2 separate regions of the Homo sapiens genome follow, and region 2 is linked to region 1. Evidence: promoter capture Hi-C in human tissues and cell types (Jung and others, 2019). All regions are on one chromosome and are shown on one strand. Each heading gives the region's core, a stretch centred on a gene start or on the middle of the fragment in contact. The rest is flanking DNA. Distances are from core to core; before and after follow the strand shown.

Evidence for each region. Contacts are between HindIII fragments. The study calls those that stand out against the background at their distance.
Region 2: a fragment that was not itself captured here is called in contact with the fragment with the promoter of CLASRP in region 1 in 1 of the 25 tissues and cell types used here (spleen).

The regions. Positions count from the first base shown.
Region 1 is chr19:45,036,884-45,042,558 of GRCh38, forward strand. It overlaps CLASRP (CLK4 associating serine/arginine rich protein), which reads left to right and starts at 2,162. Exons shown (of 21, transcript NM_007056.3): 1 at 2,162-2,225; 2 at 3,301-3,428. The coding sequence starts at 3,330. RELB (RELB proto-oncogene, NF-kB subunit) reads left to right here. Exons shown (of 12, transcript NM_006509.4): 12 at 522-1,309. The coding sequence ends at 907. RefSeq lists an enhancer at 1,836-2,705. The HindIII fragment of the contact is 17,106 bases long and covers 1-5,503 here.
Region 2 is chr19:45,568,707-45,574,381 of GRCh38, forward strand. The region is part of intron 1 of OPA3 (outer mitochondrial membrane lipid metabolism regulator OPA3); the gene reads right to left. Among named protein-coding and RNA genes, the nearest start is that of OPA3, 13 kb to the right of the region's middle. The HindIII fragment of the contact is 4,011 bases long and covers 1,545-5,555 here.

The DNA.
Region 1 (5,675 bases), core at 912-3,411:
CGTTGTGCTGGGATTACAGGTGTGAACCACCACGCTTGGCCTTCAATTTACTTATTATCTGAGAATGGTGATAGTCCCACACGGATTCTCCTTGGGATTAAGAGGGCACCTAAGGCCAGGCTTGGTGGCTCACACCTGTAATCCCAGCACTTTGGGAGGCCGAAGCAGGTGGATCACCTGAGGTCAGGAGTTCGAGACCAGCCTGGCAAACATGGTGAAACCCCGTCTCTACTAAAAAGATAAGAATTAGCTGGGCATGGCACATGCCTGGCCTGTAGTTCCAGCTACTCAGGAGACTGAGGCAGGGGAATCAACTTGAACTGGGGAGGCAGAGGTTGCAGTGAGCCAAGAGCACGTCATTGCACTCCAGCCAGGGTGACAGAATGAGACTCCATCTCAGAAAAAAAAAAAAAAAGGCCACCTTGATATCACATTTTGCAGGGAGTAGGGCATTTGATTTAGGGCCTGATCAGAAGTTAGCCCTAAATCACACTACACTTCTCTTGTCTTCATCCCCGTAGGCCCGTTCCTCCCGCCGTCAGCCCTGCTGCCAGACCCTGACTTCTTCTCTGGCACCGTGTCCCTGCCCGGCCTGGAGCCCCCTGGCGGGCCTGACCTCCTGGACGATGGCTTTGCCTACGACCCTACGGCCCCCACACTCTTCACCATGCTGGACCTGCTGCCCCCGGCACCGCCACACGCTAGCGCTGTTGTGTGCAGCGGAGGTGCCGGGGCCGTGGTTGGGGAGACCCCCGGCCCTGAACCACTGACACTGGACTCGTACCAGGCCCCGGGCCCCGGGGATGGAGGCACCGCCAGCCTTGTGGGCAGCAACATGTTCCCCAATCATTACCGCGAGGCGGCCTTTGGGGGCGGCCTCCTATCCCCGGGGCCTGAAGCCACGTAGCCCCGCGATGCCAGAGGAGGGGCACTGGGTGGGGAGGGAGGTGGAGGAGCCGTGCAATCCCAACCAGGATGTCTAGCACCCCCATCCCCTTGGCCCTTCCTCATGCTTCTGAAGTGGACATATTCAGCCTTGGCGAGAAGCTCCGTTGCACGGGTTTCCCCTTGAGCCCATTTTACAGATGAGGAAACTGAGTCCGGAGAGGAAAAGGGACATGGCTCCCGTGCACTAGCTTGTTACAGCTGCCTCTGTCCCCACATGTGGGGGCACCTTCTCCAGTAGGATTCGGAAAAGATTGTACATATGGGAGGAGGGGGCAGATTCCTGGCCCTCCCTCCCCAGACTTGAAGGTGGGGGGTAGGTTGGTTGTTCAGAGTCTTCCCAATAAAGATGAGTTTTTGAGCCTCCGGGGTTTCGTCTGTTCTGGGCTTGGGAAACGCCCTAGTCCCTTAGTAGCAAAGAAAGCCTCCAGGCTGGGGGCTCAGGCCTGTCATCCCAGCACTTTGGGAGGCCAAAGCAGGAGGATCGCTTGAGCTCACGAGTTTGAGACCAGCCTGGGCAACATGACGAAACCTAGTCTCTACAAAAAATACAAAAATTAGCCGGGCGTGGTGCTGCGCGCCTGTAATCCCAGCTACTCTAGAGGCTGAGGTGGGAGGATCGCTTGAGCCCAGGAGGTGGACGTTGCAGTGAGCCAAGACCGCACCACTGCACTCCAGCTTGGGCGACAGCGCGAGGCTGTGTCTCAAAAAAATAAAAAATGAAAATGAAAATAAAAAATGAGACCGGGCATGGTGGCTCATGGCTGTAATCCCAGCACTTTGGGAGGCCGAGGCAGGTGGATCACCTGAGGTCAGGAGTTTGAGACCAGCCTAACCAAAATGGTGAAACCCCATCTCTACTAAAAATACAAAAATTAGCCGGGCTTGGTGGCGCGCGCTTGTAGTCCCAGCTACTCGGGAGGCTGAGGTGGGAGAATAGCTGAAACCCAGGAGGCAAAGGTTGCAGTGAGCCTAGATCGCGCCACTGCCTTCTAGCCTGGGAGACAAAGAGAGACTCCGTCTCAAAAAAATAAAATTAAATAAATAAATAAAATAAAAAAGATAAAAAGATAAAGCATCCAAGCTCTTCCCTTCTCCGCTCTCCCACTTCTTCCTCGGGATCCCGCCCCTCTCGACTCTAGGACCCGCCTCTCTCGTCGGCGGAAGTGCGCTGCGCGGCCCTCCACCATGCTCCGCCCCCTCCCCCTAGCGCGGCCTTTCATTTCCGCTTCCGGTGCGGGCCGCGCGCGAGCGCAGCGGTGGGAGGCGGCGACCAGCCGGTGAGTGCAGGCTGCGGCTCGACCTCCCGGTTTTCGGGCAGGCCTCAGCCCAGCTTCTCCCTTTCCTCAGGCTCTCCCCATGCTGCTGTGGGCTTCTGCTGCGTCCCGGCCCCGAGGATCGCTCGTCCCTCACCCCATTAGGCCTGACGGGCCTCAGGCCGAGCCCGTGCCCCGGCTGTGGGCCAGAAGTTGCCGCGTCGAACTCGGCCTTCGGCCCAGCAGCTTATCACAGGCCCCGCCCCCTTGTCAAAAAAAAAAACAACAAAAAAAAAACCCAGCCCAAATCCTCAGGCCGCGACGCGATCCACAAGCCCCGTCCAAACCTTCGGTCTCCGCCCTTTCCCGCAAGCCCTGCCCCCAAGCTCAGCCCACGCCCTCCTGTCAGCCAGCTCCGCCTCTCTCAGGCTCTACGCTCTTTTTCTTTGGATGCTCTCCCCACCCCGCCATCTAGATCCCATCTTTAGACCTCAGCTTCACTCTGGTCTCCTTGCAACACTCCCTCCCCGTGTTCCCACTCCCTCTAGCATCTTCATCTTCCGCCACGCCCTTCACCTGTCCTCGACCTCCACCTTCATACAACTGCACTGTTCCCTTAAAAGCTTTCTCCGATTTCCTCCACCTGCCTTCATCCTTATTCTCCTTATCCCTCTACCACCCAGACTCATACCCAACCCCACGCATGGCCCCTAGTGGGAGCCTTTTCAGTTCTTCTCTTTCTCTTGAGCTCCAGCCTTAAGTGCTCAGGGTTTGCCTTCTGACCCTACTTCAAACACTGCTGATGTTTCAAAACCTTTCATTCCCGACTCCAGCGCGTGGAATCTAGGACACCCCTTTCCCAGTGATGCTCACCTCAGAATCACCTGAGGGTTTTTCAGAATGCCCAAGCTTCTAGATCGAAGTTGTTAGGGATGGACTTGAACATCTGGCATACTGTTCTGCAGCTTCACTTCTGCTCCCTGAAGCTAAGAGATGTGTTGTTTGGGATCGACTCTGCCACCAACTTGTTAGATGACTTTGATTCTGCCCATACGGGTTTCACAGACCATCTGACTTTCCTGGTCCCTTCATCCCTCAGGTTGAGGCCCCAGGCTTGGCCTCACCACAATGTGGCACGAGGCTCGGAAGCATGAGCGGAAGCTTCGAGGCATGATGGTCGACTACAAGAAGAGGGCGGAGCGGAGACGGGAGTATTATGAAAAGATCGTGAGTAACTGGCCTTTTGTCTGGGGTGAGGGACCCTGGGTTGGGGGGCACAGCTGGTCATCCTGGTAAAATCTGGGCTTGGAAGTATGTCAAGACAAGAGGCTCATTTCCTCAGGAGTATATTCATTAATCTTTTCTTGAGGATAATCATTGGTGGGATCCCAAGGGCTTCTGTTTGTTGTAGCATACTGTGTCGTTTGGTGTGGCCTCCCAGTGCCGATCCGGTGTTAGCAAGAAAAAGGGAAGTCTCTGTAACCCTCAGAGCAGTCCTGACGTTAGACTGGCCACCTCCAGAATGTCTGTTTCGCTTATTGCTGTGTTCCCCATTCCCAGAAGAGCTCAGCCACTCTTGAGATTTGGCTTGGCACACAATAGGAGTGAGTATTAAGTTGGCCTGGCACAGTGGCTCACGCCTGTAATCCCAAGTGGATCACCTGAGGTCACGAGTTCGAGACCAGCCTGGCCAAAAGGGTGAAACCCCATCTCTACTAAAGATACAAAAATTAGCCAGGCTTAGTGGTGTGTGCATGTAGTCCCAGCTACTTGGGAGGCTGACGCACGAGAATTGCTTGAGCCCGGGAGGAGGAGGCTGTAGTGCATGGAGATTGTGCCACTGAACTCCAGCCTGGGTGACAGAGCAAGACTCAACGCCTGTAATCCCAGCACTTTGGGAGGCCGAGGTGGACAGATCACAAGGTCAAGAGATCGAGACCGTCCTGGCTAACACGGTGAAACCCCATCTCTATTAAAATACAAAAAATTAGCCAGGTGAGGTGGCGGGTGCCTGTAGTCCCAGCTACTCGGGAGGCTGAGGCAGGAGAATGGTGTGAACCGGGGAGGGGGGCAGAGCGGAGCCTGCAGTGAGCTGAGATAGCACCATTGCACTCCAGCCTGGGCGACAGCGAGACTCTGTCTCAAAAAAAAAAAAAAAAAGACTGTCTCAAAAAAAAAGGAGTGAATATTAAGTGAAACCTGACCACTTCCCTCTCCTGTCTGATGCTTCAGTTGTTTTTGCGGGGAAGACCAAACTATCCCTGGCCTAAAAGACCCTTGTGGTCTGACCACTCAGCTTCATACTCGGACAGCTCCACTGGCCTTCTATTTCTGCCACCACAGGGCTTTGGCCTATATTACCCCCCCTCACCTATTTAACTCCTGTGTATCCTTGGGATCCCAGCTTGAAATGGCACCTGTTTTCTAGGTTCAGTGTTCCTGTCAGATGACATTTATATAGACCTTTCCCAGTTATTCCTGTATTACTGCCCCAGCCTCCTCCCTGGTCTGCTGGCCTCCAGTCCTGGCTCCTCCAGTCTGTCCTTCCTAGAAGAGTCCAAGAGGCCTTTCTAAAGCACAAAACTGACCCTGTCCCTTCGTTGCTCAGAGCACCTCTATGCCTCCTAAGTGCCCTTGAGAGAAAGCCCAGGCTCCTCACTGTGGCCTTTAGGGTCCTGCATGGCCTGGCCTTTGCCCTTCCTCCAGACTCACACCACCCCACACTCTGCCTTGTTCCTTTGCACAAGTCATTTTGGCCTCCTTGCTATTCCTCCACTGACCCAAGCGCTCCCCAGCCACAGGACCTTTGTATGAGCTCTTCCCATACCTGGTTAACTACTGCTTATCTGTCAGATCTCAGTCCTCAGAGAAGTCTTGTTTCCCAAGCTCAGTCAGGTGTCCTCTAAAAATGCCATAATCATAGCTCCCTTTCCTTCCCCTTTGTGGAATTTAACACACTTAAGATACACATACATGGGCCTGGTGTGGTGGCTCACGCCTGTAATCCCAGCATTTTGGGGGCCAAGGCAGGTGGATCACCTCAGGTCAAGAGTTTGAGACCAGCCTGGCTAACATGATGAAACCTCGTCTCTACTAAAAATACAGAAATTAGCTGGAGGTGGTGAGGAGCCTGGGCTTTCTCTCAAGGGCACTTAGGAGCCATAGAGGTGCTCTGAGCAATGAAGGGACAGGGTCAGTTTTGTGCTTTAGAAAGGCCTCCTGGACTCTTCTAGGGAGGACAGACTGGAGGAGCCAGGACTGGAGGCCAGCAGACCAGGGAAGAGGCTGGGGCAGTAATACAGGAGTAAATGGTAATCCCAGCTACTCGGGAGGCTGAGGCAGGAGAATTGCTTGAACCCGGGAGGCATAGGTTGCATTGCTCTCCAGCCTGGGCAACAGAGTGAGACTCCATCTCAAAAAAAAAATTTATATATATATATATATGTGTGTGTATGTATGTATACACACACGCAC
Region 2 (5,675 bases), core at 2,300-4,799, 530 kb after region 1:
TTCAAGGGATTCAGGAGGAGGTAACCCCACTCCTGAGCCTGGCCAATTAGGGCACTGCTTTCCCTGGGCCACAGAGACGGTGCTGGGATGGGGATGTGACGCAGGGTGGACCACTGGATTCAGCCTGGGAATTTGGCAGGAAATCCGGGATGAGGCACCCCTCTGTGCCCTGGGGTCACTAGGCAGGTAACTAATACCCTCAAATGTGCCCCATGAGAGCAAGGATCTTTGTTCTGTTGACTACTGAGTCATGCCTCTTAGAACAGTTCCTGGCACACAGCAGGCACTAAATAAAGATTTGTTGAGTGAATGAATTACTCAGCCTCCTAATGGACTGAAGCATAGCCACACCCCAGAAAATGATCCCCACCTCTACTCTCCTCCCAGGCCTGGAGAGACCAACTCAACTTGGTATAGAGGATACTCAGGGGTTTCTAAGGCTCAGAGGACGCAATTAACAGAGAGGCTAGGGCCGAGCGCTGTGGCTCACGCCTGTAATCCCAGCACTTTGGAAGGCCAAGGCAGACAGATTACTTGAGGTCAGGAGTTCAAGACCTCCCTGGCCAACATAGTGAAACACCGTCTCTACTAAAAATACAAAAATTAGCTGGGCGTGGTGGCGGGCACCTGTAGTCACAGCTATTCAGGAGGCTGAAGCAGAAGAATCACTTGAACCCAGGAGGCAGAGGTTGTAGTGAGCCGAGATCGCGCCACTGCACTCCAGCCTGGGCGACAGAGCAAGACTCTGTCTCAAAATAAACAAAAAAGATTTCAGAACAACTTCAGTGCGTCTGATTACCAGTGCTACTTTATATTATTCTCTACTGTCTTAGTAATTCCATCCTCCCCACCTCCATTAGAGTTTAGAAGCCGATACTCACCACTGCAACCTCCCATACACCAAGGGGTGGGAGGTGACCCGGTTGTGGTAAGCTGGCAGTGAGGGGAGTTTCCTGGGGGCTTCTGGAAAAGGATTTTCCTCCTTGAAGCGTTACCCTCACTTACCTGACCACCCGCCCCTCCATACACACACGCATAGACTTCCTCCCTTATGAAACATAAAGGCACAATGCCTGGAGCCGCAGCAGCCCTACTGAGGCCATGAGGACTGCCTGAGCACCAACACAGCAGAGATGGAGTCCTCAGGTTCCCAATGACACCACTGAGCCACCAAACCAACCAAGAACAGGCCTTCCTCAGGGCTTACTGAAAAGCCAGCAAAAAACACCCTTTTGATTTAAGGTTTGATTGACATTTACTGGCTGGGTTTTCAATTAATTACAGATGAGCACAAACTAATACAGAGATACACCGGGGTCAATGACCGAGATGGCCTCTGGTGCTTTCTCAGGCAGGCGCCATCCCCAGGCTGACACGGGCGCCCTCTCCTGTCCACTTGGCATATTGCTTGCAGCCAGCGCAAGTAGATTCCCTGGGATGCACTCAGGTTGCAAATCAGCCAGCCCTCTACACAGGGGCTTCTGAAAAAGATCCCTGTTCAGAAATCGGCCAGAAGATTTAGCCATGAGTACATGAGCAAATTCCAGCAAATGCCTCTGCATAATGAAGGGTGGGACTAAAAAAGGAGCAGCGAGATTAAACGCAGCCAATGACACACTTCTTCCATCTGAGACTATGTGCCTTAGTTAGGTCTTTGCCAGCTGTGACAGCCACATACAAAGAATGTCAAAGCTGGCTGGGAGCGGTGGCTCATGCCTGTAATCCCAGCACTTTGGGAGACTGAGGTGGGCAGATCACCTGAGGTCAGGAGTTCGAGACCAGCCTGGCCAATATGGTGAAACCCTATCTCCAATAATAATACAAAAAAAAATTAGCTGGGCATAATGGCACACCCCTGTAATCCCAGCTACTTGGGAGGCTGAGGCAGGAGAATTGCTTGAACCTGGGAGGTGGAGGCTGCAGCGAGCTGAGATTGAACCACTGCACTACAGCCTGGGCGACAGAGTGAGACTCCATCTTGGGGAAAAAAACAAAAACAAAACAAAATTAGCCGGGTGTGGTGGCAGAAGCCTGTAATCCCAGCTGCTCGGGAGGCTGAGGCAGGATAATCACTTGAACCTGGGAGGTGGAGGTTGTAGCGAGCCGAGATTGTGCCACTACTCTCCAGCCTGGGCGACAGAGTGAGACTCTGTCTCAAAAAAAAAAAAAAAAATTCAAAGCCAGACTCTCACAGAGGGTTTCACCAAGAGTTTCCAAATTTACTTAATAATGTCTGCATAGGAAAATGTTTTCGGTGACAGCAAAACTATTTGGGGGGGGGGGGCATGAATAAATAAGTTTATTTTAAAAATTTTTATGTTCGTTTCATCCCTCTAATTTTTGTGTATGTTTTTAAATGCATATAATATAACCATACTATTATATGTTAGCGCTATACATGACTGCTAAATACTTTCATTTATTTATTTATTTACTTATTTTATTTTATTTTTTTGAGACAGGGTCTTGCTCTGTCGCCCAGGCTGGAGTGCAATGGTGCGATCTTGGCACACCGCAACCTCCACCTCCCGGGTTCAAGCGATACTCTTGCCTCAGTCTCCCAAGTAGCTGAGATTACAGGCATGCGCCACCATGCCCAGCTAATTTTTTGTATTTTTTTAGTAGAGACGGGGTTTCTCCATGTTGTTCAGGTTGGTCTTGAACTCCCCGCCTCAGGGGATCCACCCGCCTTGGACTCGCAAAGTGCTGGGATTACAGGCATGAGCCACCGTGCCTGGCTGACTGCTAAATAATTTTACATATGTGTACACACGTGCATACATATATGCTAGGGAAGGAACCTCAGAAGTGTTTCCTTGATAGGAGAACATAATAATAAATGTTTGGAGGTCACCAGCAGCAGCCTGGCTGCCATATAATATAACTGATGTGACGCTCTGGTGATTATAAATAAACTCCAGCAAAGTGATTTTCAAACACTGGTGCGTGTGAGAATGTACTCTAGAGACTGCTAAAAATAAACACGTCCACCCCTTCCCTACGTCCACCAAATCAGGACCTGCAGGTAGCACTCCTGGGCATCTACTGGAAGTGCCCCAGAAAGCTCACTAGTTTTCCTCCATATTGTGCACCTTTCAGCTCCCCAATCCTCTTGGCAGTTGTGTTTAACCTGGTGGTTAGTTAGCCCTTCTATTGAGAGCTGAACACCAACTGTTGTAGCTGTCCTTTCTAGAAGTTTTGTTTAATTCTTTTTCCAGCTTCCTGGCAATTTTTCATTTTACTTGTGTTTTAATATCCTTCTCTTTTATCCTCTTAACAGATAAGCTTAGGTATTTTATATCCACATCTGATAATTCCACGTTTGCAGGCTGTGACCTGCCATGTTTTTCTGCTGGCTCTCGCTCATGGTGGCTGCTTTTTTCATGTGGTGTATATATATATATCAATATATATTGATATATATATATATTTTGTATTTTTAGTAGAGACGGGGTTTCTCCATGTTGGTCAGGTTGGTCTGATATATATATGAGATATATATATATCTCTCATATATATCGATATATATGATTATATATCTCATATAAATAAAAAATAAAAATATATATAGTATATATATCGATATATATCTCATATATATCGACATATATGAGATATATATCGATATATATCTCATATATATCGACATATATGAGATATATATCGATATATATCTCATATATATCAACATATGAGATTATCGATATATATCGATATATATCATGATATATGTATATCAATATATGATATATATCATATATCATATAATAATCATATATATCGAGATATATGAGATATATATCATATATGAGATATGAGATATATATATCATATGATATATATATCATATATGGATATATATCATGATATATGTATATAAATATATATATTGATATATATCATATATATCATGATATATGTATATAAATATATATATCGATATATATCATATATATCTATATGAGATATATATCTATATATATCATACTATATATATGATATATCTCAATATATACCTATATATCATACTATATATATAGATATATATCTCGATATATATCTATATATATCATACTATATATAGATATATATATCATACTATATATATAGATATATATCTCGATATATATCTATCTATATATATTTTTTTTTTACTGTGAGCTTGTATGTGCTGGAACTCTATCTGAAGGATTTCTCCAAGGCCTGGGCAGAGAGAGCACAGGCAGGAAGAGTTTATGTTTGCCCTTGCCAGGTGCTTAGATACAATTAGGTACCCCTAGGGGTTCATTCTCAGCCTGCAACTTCCAGGACCTTTCAAAGAGGCCCCAAGCCCACATGAGGGACAGTCAGTGGCTACAAATTCTCAGAGGAGAATGTATCAGTCTCTACCTAGGGCAAAGCTTGTGTGCCTTCAGACGGAGGTTTTTTTCTAGTTCACCAGGTACCTTGCCAGAGACCTGGTTCTACACAAGGCTGTTGCCTGCCCAATTCCCCCACAGCATAGTCCCCATCCCCCAGGCCAAGTGATACGGTGTGGCTGTGTCCCCACCCAAATCTCATCTTATATTCACACGTCTCACTAAAAATACAAAAAATTAGCTGGGCATGGTGGCACATGCCTGTAATCTCAGCTACTCGGGAGGCTGAGACAGGAGAATCACTTGAACCCAGGAGGTGGAGGTTGCGGTGAGCTGAGATCACGCCACTGCACTCCGGCCTGGGCAACAAGAGCGAAACTCTGTCTCAAAAAATAAACAAATAAAATGAATAAATAAGTAAATAAACATGTACAGAGTACTTGAGGGCCAGGTACAGTTCTATGTTTTATGGATCTTAATATCCACATAACAACCCAATTACAAGCATAAAACTGAGGCCCAGAGAGGTTAAATAACTCTCCCTGGGGTCACACAGAAAGTGGCAGAGCGGGGACAGATAAGCAGGCAGCCTGGTTCGAGGCCGCGCTGCAAACAGTAAACAGTAAACACTGTTTACTGAATGGTGCTGAGGGAACATCAGAACTATGAGGTTAAGTGCTATTCGGTACAGAAAGGCAGAGGGACTCATGCAGGACACACACCACGTAAACAGCAGGGCAAGGATCTGAGTGCACGAAGTCTTTATCTAGAAGCAGAGGTTTTGGCACTTGGGCAGTAATGACAAGAAGGGATTCCGGCTGGGTGCGGTGGCTCACGCCTGTAATCCCAACACTTTGGGAGGCCACAGCGGGCGGATCACTTGAGGTCAGGAGTTGGAGACCAGCCTGACCAACATGGTGAAACCCCGTCTCTACTAAAAATACAAAAATTAGCTGGGCGTGGTGGCAGGCGCCTGTAATCCCAGCTACTCAGGAAGGCAAAAGCCTGGGCAACAAAGTTAGACTCCATCTCAAAAAAAACAAAGGGGGCTGGGCGCAGTGGCTCACGCCTGTAATCCCAGCACTTTGGGAGGCTGAGGCGGGCGGATCACGAGGTCAGGAGATCGAGACCATCCTGGCTAACATGGTGAAACCCCGTCTCTACTAAAAATACAAAAAATATTAGCTGGGCGTGGTGGCGGGCGCCTGTAGTCCCAGCTACTCGGGAGGCTGAGAGGCAGGAGAATGGCGTGAACCCGGGAGGCGGAGCTTGCAATGAGCCAAAATCGTGCCACTGCACTCCAGCCTGGGCGACAGA